Linked DNA regions of Homo sapiens: region 1 is linked to region 2. The links are contacts of gene promoters, found by promoter capture Hi-C in blood cells and fetal thymus (Javierre and others, 2016). All regions are on one chromosome and are shown on one strand. The core of a region is centred on a gene start or on the middle of the fragment in contact, and the rest is flanking DNA. Distances in the headings are between cores, read along the strand shown.

Region 1 (5,273 bases), core at 2,528-5,027, 530 kb after region 2:
CACAATCTAGTAGGCTATTGCTTTCTGTGGATGGGACAGTATCTAGTCCAACAGACTAAAAATTACAAATGGGTGGGGACCTCACCAGCTTTCCCCGAATTCCATTTCCCTTAGCCCCTGTTGTGGCTGATTTCTGTGTGCATTGTCTACGACTGAGCTACCCAAACCACCTCCGCATGCCCACTCCCCAAGGACAGGGCCTGGGTGGGGCACAAAACCCTGTCCAGCTCACTACTCCCAGGAGGCTCACTATCTAGTACACCATCACCAACCCTGTACTTAGAACCTCAGGCCCTGAAAGGTTAAGGGGACAACTCAGAATCAGAGCTGCCTGGCAAATACAGAACAGCCCCAGGAGAAAAAGTTTGATTGAAAAGGTCAGAGATGGCAGCCCAGTAACCCAGCCAATCAGAGGGCAAATGAAAGCAATATACCTCTGGGGTCATCGAGCAGGTGGCCAGAACACCAGGCCAGAGCCAACCCCCACCAAAAAGGGCCAGCCCCAGGAGAGGAGAAGCTGGGGGAGGCTGGAACTGGTATCCTAGCATCCTATGTGTGAGTCTGTACCTCAAAGGAACCACACCTCTGAGTCAGACCTCAGCAACAGCAGGAAACAGAGGGTAGAAAAAGGCACGGATGAGGAGCAGGGGAAGGCAGCACCGAGGTAGATGAGGAAGGTGAAAGAAGGCAACATTAAGAACTGGCCTGTGGGCCAGGCACGGTGGCTCACACCTGTAATCCCAGCACTTTGGGAGGCCGAGGGGGTCAGATCACCTGAGGTCAGGAGTTCAAGACCAGCCTGATCAACATGGAGAAACCCCGTCTCTACTAAAAATACAAAATTAGCCGGATGTGGTGGCGCATGCCTGTAATTCCAGCTACTTGGGAGGCTGAGGCAGGAGAATCGCTTGAAGCTAGAAGGCAGAGGTTGTGGTGAGCCGAGATCGCGCCATTGCACTCCAGCCTGGGCAACAAGAGCAAAATTCCATCTCAAAAAAAAAAAAAAAAAAAGAAATGGCCTGTGTCAGGACATCATGATAAAGACATGGGTGTTCAGGGGTGGCTGGCCTGCAGGCTAAGAAGGAACAATAATCTGACAGTGAGGACAAATTCCCAATTTGAAGATGGTGTAGCTTAGGAAAGGCAGAAATCCAGCACTGGTGCGAAAAGAAAAAAAAAAAGGAAAAATGCAAAGGTTATCCTAGGATTAAGAATAAGGGTGAGGAGCCTACTCAGATTAGGAAAGGTGACTGGTCTAGGATGCACTTGGGTGACAGTTAGGAGGGCTTTGATACAAAAGAGGCCTTTAAGTCAGGAGACCTGATATTGCAGCTGGGCCTCCAGCAGGCTGTGTGACCTTGGACAAGTCCCTTGCCCTGTCGGGGCCTCAGTCTCCTCATCTGTACCATTAGGGATTGCACTGCATGCGCTCAGAGGTCCCTTCCAGCACCAACGTTGTGAGGTTCCATCAACAGAAGGGCTCAGTCCTGCTTACAAGTTTGTGTGTGAAGGAAGAACTAGAGGGAGGGGCCTAGGCCAGATTTGGGTGGAGGAGAGAGAAAGCAGCGCTGTTCTAGGTCAGGGGCTTGGCATGGAAAGAGAAGGGGCCGTAGGGGACTGCGGGGCGGCTGTCCCAGGCGGGTAGGAAGAGGAGACAAGGGGCTGCTCAGGGCGGGGCGAGGGGGCAATTCTGGAGGAAGGTGCAGTTTCAGATGAGGGGCTGCCCAAACCGAAGGGGGATCGGGGCCAGGGGTGATGGGGGGGACAGAAAAAGCAGGACAGTGACCTGGGAATGGGGCAGATCTGGAAGAAGGAGGTTACCCTGGGCCGGGGGTAAGAGAAGGGAAGAAGGGAGGGAGGTGTATGTGGGGGGAGTCTCTCCGGGGCAAGGTGGGGGAGCTGTCCTAGCTGCGGCACAAGCTGGGGGTGCTGCCAGCCGCGGGGGCGGAGGGCTGGCCCCAGGAGTCCTGCGGGGGCTGGACGGGAGGGTCAGTCTGGGGCTGTCCCGGGCCTGGCTCCGGCCCCTCCCAGAGCTCCGCGCAGGCTCCAAGGCGGCGGTGGGGGAAAAAGGGCCACGCTCACCTTCTCCTTTTTCAGTTTATAGGGCATCTCGGCCCGTCCGGACCCGGCCCGTCTCCTGCGGCCCCGCTCCGGCTCCGGCTTTGCTCGGCCGCACTCGGCCCGCTCGGCGTCTCTTCGCCACCGCCTGCGCGCTGCGCCCGGGTCGAGCGGTGCCTGCGCCTCCAATTGGCCCGAACTCCTACAAAACTGCCTGACAACCAGGCGCCGCCTCCTCGGATTGGTCATTGGAGCCAAGCTGCTTCCTTTTTTTCTTATTGGAAAGAAATAGTACAAACCGCCAGGGTTCGGCTTCCAGAATTGGCTGAAGTGGGTGGTCCCGCCCTAAAGTGGGTCGAGCTTAGAGAAGGAGGCGGGGATAAGGGGAAACCCAAGCTTGGCTAGGAGGGCTGCACTCCAGCGTCTGCTGTGCGTCGGCCTCGGCCATTCTTCGCGGCGCTTGGAGCCCTGCTCTTTCCTTCTAAAGGCTCTCACACTTTGCCCGCTCTGCTACCCTGTCCAGTCGGAATTGGAGGAAGGAAGCCCTAATACGGAGGGCACCTTTCTTCACTGGGGTAAAGTAGCCCTAATTGCAGATGCAAAATTGATGGAGGGAGCTCCCAAGGACCTTCCAAGACACCCGCCTCCCTAGACAGGGGTTGCAGAGGAGCAAAGGGGAAGCCTGGCAGGGCTAGGACCTGGGCGAAATGAGTGGAGAATCCCTGGCTTGGTGCAACTTTAGGAAGAGGGTCCCCGTTGCTACTGCAAGTGTACTGGGATTGGGGAACCAGCTAGATTTGAGCAGTTGGGAACGCAGTGGAAAAGCAACTTCATTGTTGACTGTCTCAGGAAATCCATCCCTTACTTGCCACCCTGCTCAAGTCCGTGTTCTAATGGGTAAGACTCAGTTTATGCCCACAAAGAGTTCGCAGTCTGGTGAATCACAGATGTGTATAAACAAAGGATTAAGAGAGAATGTAAACCAGGCAGGCACGGTGTCTCACGCCTGTAATCCCAACACTTTGGGAGGCTGAGGCAGGAGGATCACCTGAGGTCAGAGGTTCGAGACCAGCCTGGCCAACATGGCGAAACCCCGTCTCTATTAAAAATACAAAAATTAGCTGGGTGTGGTGGTGCACGCCTGTAATCCCAGCTACTCGGGAGGCTGAGGCAGGAGAATCACTTGAACCCGGGAGACGGAGGTTGCAGTGAGCCGAGATCACACCACTGCACTCCAGCCTGGGCGACAGAGCAAGACTCTGTCTCAAAACAGCAACAATGACGACAAAAAGAATAAACCTGTGGCCAGGCTCGGTGGCTCACGCCTGTAGTCCCAACACTTTGGGAGACCAAAGTGGGCAGATCACGAGGTCAGGAGTTTGAGACCAGCCTGACCATAGTGGTGAAACCCCATTTCTACTAAAAATACAAAAATTAGACAGGGTGCGGTGGCTCACGCCTGTAATCCCAGCACTTTGGGAGGCCGAGGTGGGCGGATCACGAGTCAAGAGATCGAGGCCATCCCGGCCAACATGGTGAAACCATGCCTCTATGAAAAATACAAAAATTAGCGGGGCGTGGTGGCGCGCGCCTGTAGTCCCAGCTACTCGGGAGACTGAAGCAGGAGAATCACTTGAACCCGGTAGGAGGCTGAGGCAGGAGAATTACTTGACCCCGGTAGGTGGAGGTTGCAGTGAGCCGAGATCATGCCACTGCGCTCCAGCCTGGGCGACAGAGCAAGACTCCGTCTACAAAAAAAAAAGAAGAAACCTGTGATGCAAAGGCATGAGAATGATACAATGGAGGCCGGGCGCGGTGGCTCACGCCCGTAATCCCAGCACTTTAGGAGGCCGAGGCGGGCGGATCACGAGGTCAGGAGATCGAGACCATCCTGGATAACACGATGAAACCCCGTCTCTACTAAAATAATACAAAAAAATAGCCGGGCGTGGTGGCAGGCGCCTGTAGTCCCAGCTACCCGGGAGGCTGAGGCAGGAGAATGGCGTGAACCCGGGAGGCAGAGGTTGCAGTGAGCCTAGATCATGCCACTGCACTCCAGCCTGGGCGACAGAGCAAGACTCCGTCTCAAAAAAAAAAAAAAATACTACACATTGGGTACAGTATACACTGCTTGGGTGATGGCTGCATCAAAATCTCATAAATCACCACTAAAGAACTTATTCATGTACAAAAAATAAATTTTTAAAATTCTATATAAAATAAAATATTTAGTCTTAAAAAAAAAAAAGGTCAGGCGCAGTGGCTCACGCCTGTAATCCCAGCACTTTGGGAGACTGAGGAGGGCGGATCACCTGAGGTCAGGAGTTCAGGACCAGCCTGGCCAACATGGCAAAACCCCGTCTCTACAAAAATACAAAAATTAGCCAGGCATGACGGTGGGTGCCTGTAATCCCAGCTACTCAGGAGGCTGAGGCAGGATAATCCATTGAACCCGGGAGGTGGAGTTTGCAGTGAGCCGAGATCGCACCATTGCATTCCAGCCTGGGCGACAGGGCAAGACTCCATCTGAAAAAAAAAAAAAAAAACACAAAACCTGTGTCCCTTACCCAGGTACCCAGGAGAGCAATGTTACAAGACAGTGGCCGTGGGGATGGAGAAGAGAGGATGGAGCATGAAAATGTGTAGAATCAACAGGATATGGTGATTCATTGTATTGTGGGGGGGACGGTAACGGAAAGGGAAGAGTTGAGGATGATTTCTGGAAGTGATCAGAGTTGTAGGAGGACAACTGGTGTCATAATGGCAAAGGAAATAAAAGACAATTGGTCAGTAGTGTCAGAGAAAGAACAGCATCATCTTGATTCTGCAATTAGAAGATTATGGGTGATTTTTTCAGAGAGTGGAAGACCGTTTTTAGTGAGTGGAAGAGTGAGCATCAAGAGGTGAGGAAGTGAAGATGGCAAATGTAGGGTCCTGGCGATCTTACAGAAGTAGTATTTGGCTTTCGGTGACTAATGACGATTTCAGGGTAACACAAAGTGGACTACATGCCCGCTGTTACCTGCTGGGAGAAAAGCTTGGGAGAAAAGGACATTTATTTGTGGGTGGGTATTTGTGTCTGTATGAGTGCTGATCCAGGCAAGATAACTGATGTTTTTACCCATCTCCAAGGCCTCAAGGAGCACTATAGTCCTGAGGCCTAGAGCTTGCCTGCTACTGAGGAAAGCAGGCATATCCTCTTTAGGCCCATGTAC
Region 2 (5,276 bases), core at 1,756-4,255:
GACAGACAACTTTGGGGGGGTGGCTGCACTAGGTTGAAAGCTGCCTGAGGATACAATGGTGGAGTGAGACAGGAACAGCCCCTGCGGAAGGCCCTAGGTGAGGCTGAGATCAGAGGCCTCCTAGGACTAAATAGAGCCTTCACCCCACAGCGGGAGGGCACCCTGATGGGCACAGCCATTGGCACCTGCTTCGGCTACTGGCTGGGAGTCTCATCCTTCATTTACTTCCTTGCCTACCTGTGCAACGCCCAGATCACCATGCTGCAGATGTTGGCACTGCTGGTAAGGAGCCAGGTGTGGTGGGCAAGAGTGATGTTAAAAAGAGTAGCCAGGCCTTGGTCGGCATCTGTCCTGGGGCCCCAAAGCCTGGAATGGGAGGAGTAGGCCAATGGACCATGTGTTTCCCAGGGTCCCCATGAGGGGCCAGAAAGCAGCCCAACCTGAATGATTTTCCTCTCCACCATCCTCCTTCCCAGGGCTATGGCCTCTTTGGGCATTGCATTGTCCTGTTCATCACCTATAATATCCACCTCCACGCCCTCTTCTACCTCTTCTGGCTGTTGGTGGGTGGACTGTCCACACTGCGCATGGTAAGCTGGGCAAGAGGCTTCCAGGGGTGGGCTGTCCTCCCAGGGAGTTGGGGAAGACAGCCTGGAGCTGTCCATCTCACAAAGAGCCCTAAATGGGAGGGAAGAGCCCAAAGATGGTTCTGCCCTGGGTGGGGGTGTCTTGTCCCCACTCCTCACTTTGGAGCCAGGCCCTTTGAGCTGTATTCTCATGGTCCTAGGTAGCAGTGTTGGTGTCTCGGACCGTGGGCCCCACACAGCGGCTGCTCCTCTGTGGCACCCTGGCTGCCCTACACATGCTCTTCCTGCTCTATCTGCATTTTGCCTACCACAAAGTGGTAGAGGGTAAGTGGCAGGAAGGTCTGGGTGGGGGAGAATGGGAAAGCAGCTGCCTAGAGCAAGAAGCTAGATATGATGGCTGGTGGGCTGGGCCCATCTGATCCTCGCTCACCTTCCATCTTCCTTCCAGGGATCCTGGACACACTGGAGGGCCCCAACATCCCGCCCATCCAGAGGGTCCCCAGAGACATCCCTGCCATGCTCCCTGCTGCTCGGCTTCCCACCACCGTCCTCAACGCCACAGCCAAAGCTGTTGCGGTGACCCTGCAGTCACACTGACCCCACCTGAAATTCTTGGCCAGTCCTCTTTCCCGCAGCTGCAGAGAGGAGGAAGACTATTAAAGGACAGTCCTGATGACATGTTTCGTAGATGGGGTTTGCAGCTGCCACTGAGCTGTAGCTGCGTAAGTACCTCCTTGATGCCTGTCGGCACTTCTGAAAGGCACAAGGCCAAGAACTCCTGGCCAGGACTGCAAGGCTCTGCAGCCAATGCAGAAAATGGGTCAGCTCCTTTGAGAACCCCTCCCCACCTACCCCTTCCTTCCTCTTTATCTCTCCCACATTGTCTTGCTAAATATAGACTTGGTAATTAAAATGTTGATTGAAGTCTGGAACTGCAGCGGCTGATCCAGTGGTCCTCCCTGTCATCCCGCTTCCTATATACTTTCCTACTCAGTCAACAGTGGTAATGTCATATGTTCCCTTCTTCATATCCTCACCCAGGCAAGATAAAGGTGGGACAGGCCAGACTACATAGAAGGCAGTGATTGAATATCACACCTGACCCATGAAGCGGCAGGGAGGCCTCAAGCACAAAAGCCATAAGCCTGATGGAACACTGCAGCCAGCTTGAGTCTGGGCTCAGCTGCTCTCTTGGGAAGCCAAGGAAGCAGTGACAATTGAACAAAACATCCCGACTTAAACCCCGTGTCAAAACAAGGATCTTCTGCACCTGGGCATTGTGTTGATAATTTTCCTGTGGAGCTCTTAATTGAAGCCAAATTTGGCTTTGCCTTGGTGGTACTGGGGCCAGCTCCTTTTAGTTTTTCTGTCTTTCCTCTTAAAACCAACCACCACTCCTAACATAGCACCATCCACCCCCACCACCTCTTTAATATGCTCCACTTAATAAGTTAATTCAGGTGGCTAAGAGTGGGAATAGGGCCTTTGACCTCCCTTCACTATATTGAATATTATATTTTATGTAAAATAATCATCTTAACACTAGTAAATCTGGGTCAGCAGCATCTATCCCTCCTAACAAAGGGACAAACAGAGGTGCCCTTCATTTGTCCTGCGTTACACAAGTGAGTCCCCCACCACCCTGGCCAGAGGACAAAGTTGAGACAGCACCGCCTGCACCGTGCAGTGTGGCTCAGCCGCCTTCACGTCCTCACCAGTGCTCCAGGGCCCTGGCCCTGGCACCTTCTTTGTATTGGCTGCCCCAGTCTCGCGGCACGGACACACCCTCAGATGTCAACAGTGCCCTGCGTACCTGAGAAGGTGTGGCACCAGGACCTTGCATCTATCTGAGGCTCCCCTGCCCTAGGGACCCTATGGGGTACCCTTCTCCCCAGCAGCTCAAGCTGGCTCTGCCCAGCCGTGGCCCCTGGGGCCTCCCTGATGAGGCCGCCATCTTGGCGAGGAGCAAGCGGGGAAGTCCCCATGGGCCGGGATCACCACGCACGCTGCGCCTCGAGTCACGGGGGCGGGAGCGAGGCGCGGCGCGGATGAAAGGGCCCTGGGGCCTTCCAAATAGGAGGGAACAGTGCCCTGGATTCCGGCGGGGGTATGGACCTTAGGAACGGGGAAGGATGGAAGAATGGGCAGAAGCAGCAGTAACCGTGCCCAACGCCATCTCCACGGGGCGTGCCTCCATTCCGCTCCCCGTCAGCCCTACCCACTCAGCCCTGCCGCCTGCCGCCTGCCAGTTGGCTGACCCCACTCCCAAGGGAAGAGCGGCCTATCGCTCCCAGCTCCTTGCCCCGAACCACCCAGTGTACGCGAACCTCGCGGGCCGGCGTGGCCTTGGCCGGGCAGGGGGCGGGGCGAGCGCCGGTGACGCGGCCGTTGCCATGGGAACTCGCCGCCCGCTCGCTCTCTGGAGCTGGAGCCGGAGCTGCCGCCAGCCGCCCGCCTCAGGCTCTCTCTGCCAGCCGTGCGGCCAGGCCCGCGGGGTGGTCGGGGGGAGCCGGGCGGCAGAGAAGGAGGGAGCGGGTACGGCCTCCTAGCCGAGACCGGTAAGCCGAAGCCCTTGAGCCGCTCGCTGCCGCTGCCGCCGCCGCCGCCGCGACCGCGAGGGACAAGGACAAGCGCCGAGCAGCGCCTGCCCAACCCCCGGAACGCGCACCCGCCCCAACGCCCAGACACGGACCGTGCGGGCCGCCCCCGCCCCAGCGCCGCCCCACTTCAGCCCGGCCCGCGCCCTGGACGCCTCCGCACCTCTGGCCGGCTCCGGCTCAGTCCCGGTAGCTCTTCTCCGCCCCCGCCGCAGCCTCCGCCGCAGCCGCAGCCTCCGCCACAGCCGCCGCCTCCACCCCCGGCCCCACTCCGCCCGCGACCCCTGCCGGGGCCCCGACCCCGGCCCTATCCCCGGCCCCGCCCGCGGCCCCACCAACCTCCGTTCCGGCCCCGTACCCGGAGGCCCAGCCGTGGGCACGATGCTGCCCAGCTCCATCCAGATTTCGGGGGAGCCGCTGTCCGGCGCCGAGGTGCGGGACATCTGCCGCGGCCTTCGCGACAACGCCGTGCGCCTGCTCTCACTGCGCGGCTGCCGCCTCTGCGACCGCGACTTTGGCCGCATCTGCCGGGCCCTGGCCGGGGCCACGTCCCTGGCGCAGCTCAACCTTAACCTGGGCGTCGTGTCCAGCCCCAGCCGCATCAAGCAGCTGGCTGAGGCTCTGCGGACCAACCGCTCCATCCAGTCCCTCTTGTGAGTGCGCCCCCTCGCAAGGGGGTCCCGGGCACTGCACCCTTCCATACACTCCCCTGGCACCTCCTGTTCCTCCACACTCCTTCCAGTACCATCCTACCTTCACATGCCTTATGCACATACACCGTGCCTCGGCCCATGCCTTCACAGCACCCTCCAAGCACATGCTTGGACTTTGCACGCGCGACCCTAGCCGTGTTGGGATACCCACCAGTTCCTGACATGAGGTGGGGGCCGTACCTCCCCACCTAATCATCTGCATTTACTTCACTGGGGCAGCTCCTTGGTTCCCAAGGGGGAATATCCCCGTGGGGACGAGAGCCCTGCCCACTGCAGAGTTCCGGTCCACCACCCACCCACCCCTTCTCTGCCCCTCCCTGTGCAATGTCCTGGATCCCTGCCCCAGAAAACAAACCGAATTCTCCCTCTATCTGTATTCCCTGAGAATCTAGAACTTTCCTTCTCCTTTTCCAGGCCTCTCAAGCGCTGTGACTGCCCTCCCCATACCTAGGGCTGACAGAAGTGAAAGTGCCCCTTTCCCATGTAGATAGTGCGGAGGACTGCAGTAACCCTGCTCTCTCACTCTCCTCCAGCCTGCATGGGAGCCCCCTGACAGATGCGGGGCTGGCCTTGCTGAACCCAGCCCTGGCCCTCCACCCTGCCCTCGTGGCTCTGGACCTGGGGGACTGCATGCTGGGTGATGAAGCCATCAACCTCATCTGTGGCCTCCTGCCCCCAGATGGGGCCAAATCTGGTGAGCAGGACCCTGTTGAGGGCTTGGGCTAGTGTGGCAGTGATGAAAATCGAAATGCAGAGGGAAGGGGGTGTGGCCCCAGAGCTCTGATGATGTGGGCGAGAACATCTTTCTACTCCTCTCAGGAAGGGGCAGGACGGGGGGCAGCATGGAGACTCAGGAATCCAGGCTGGGGCAGGCAGAGGAAGCATGGGCCTCCTTAATGGCTCTTGACCTCTATGGTGGGGGTAAGGTGGTGCCCAGCCACTAGGGACACCCCAGAGACACAGGGATTGTGGGGAAGGGCTGGAGGAGGGCTTAACCCTCCCTATTCTGGTTTCTTGCTATGATGCTGCCCAGGCTTGAAGGAGCTAACGCTGAGTGCCAACCCTGGCATCACCCCTAAGGGCTGGAGCCGCCTTGCCATTGCCGTGGCCCACAGCTCCCAGGTCCGCGTCCTCAATCTGGATTACAACCCCCTGGGTGAGGCTCAAGAATACCCCCTTGGGCTGTCACTGCCTCATGCCCTATCCAAGAGCCTGGGACCATCAGTTGACATGGTAACCCGTACACTGGGAGAGGGAAGAGAAACGGGAGCCCCCAGGGGTCAAGGAGATAGCTTTGTGGCGGACCAGGTGACCAACAAATAGATCAAAACATCAGTCACCACCCGTGGGCCTAACTTGCTTCGTGCCTTCACTCACCA

The links. The method cuts DNA at HindIII sites, captures the fragments that hold promoters and counts their contacts. A CHiCAGO score of 5 or more calls a contact.
Region 1: a fragment that was not itself captured here is called in contact with the fragment with the promoter of LRRC73 in region 2 in 2 of 17 cell types (total B cells and naive B cells); the score reaches 5.5 in total B cells.

Annotation. Positions count from the first base shown.
Region 1 is chr6:42,981,514-42,986,786 of GRCh38, reverse strand. LOC124900215 (a long non-coding RNA gene) reads left to right here and starts at 2,473. Exons shown (of 2, transcript XR_007059580.1): 1 at 2,473-2,955. It overlaps PPP2R5D (protein phosphatase 2 regulatory subunit B'delta), which reads right to left and starts at 2,217. Exons shown (of 16, transcript NM_006245.4): 1 at 2,083-2,217. The coding sequence starts at 2,109. RefSeq lists silencers at 1,859-2,008, 2,099-2,168 and an enhancer at 2,319-2,438. The HindIII fragment of the contact is 2,641 bases long and covers 2,457-5,097 here.
Region 2 is chr6:43,508,075-43,513,350 of GRCh38, reverse strand. It overlaps LRRC73 (leucine rich repeat containing 73), which reads left to right and starts at 3,005. Exons shown (of 6, transcript NM_001012974.4): 1 at 3,005-3,837; 2 at 4,431-4,591; 3 at 4,931-5,053. The coding sequence starts at 3,566. YIPF3 (Yip1 domain family member 3) reads left to right here. Exons shown (of 9, transcript NM_015388.4): 6 at 151-282; 7 at 477-590; 8 at 788-911; 9 at 1,036-1,519. The coding sequence ends at 1,184. RefSeq lists silencers at 2,848-3,137, 3,158-3,427. The HindIII fragment of the contact is 9,076 bases long and covers 1-5,276 here.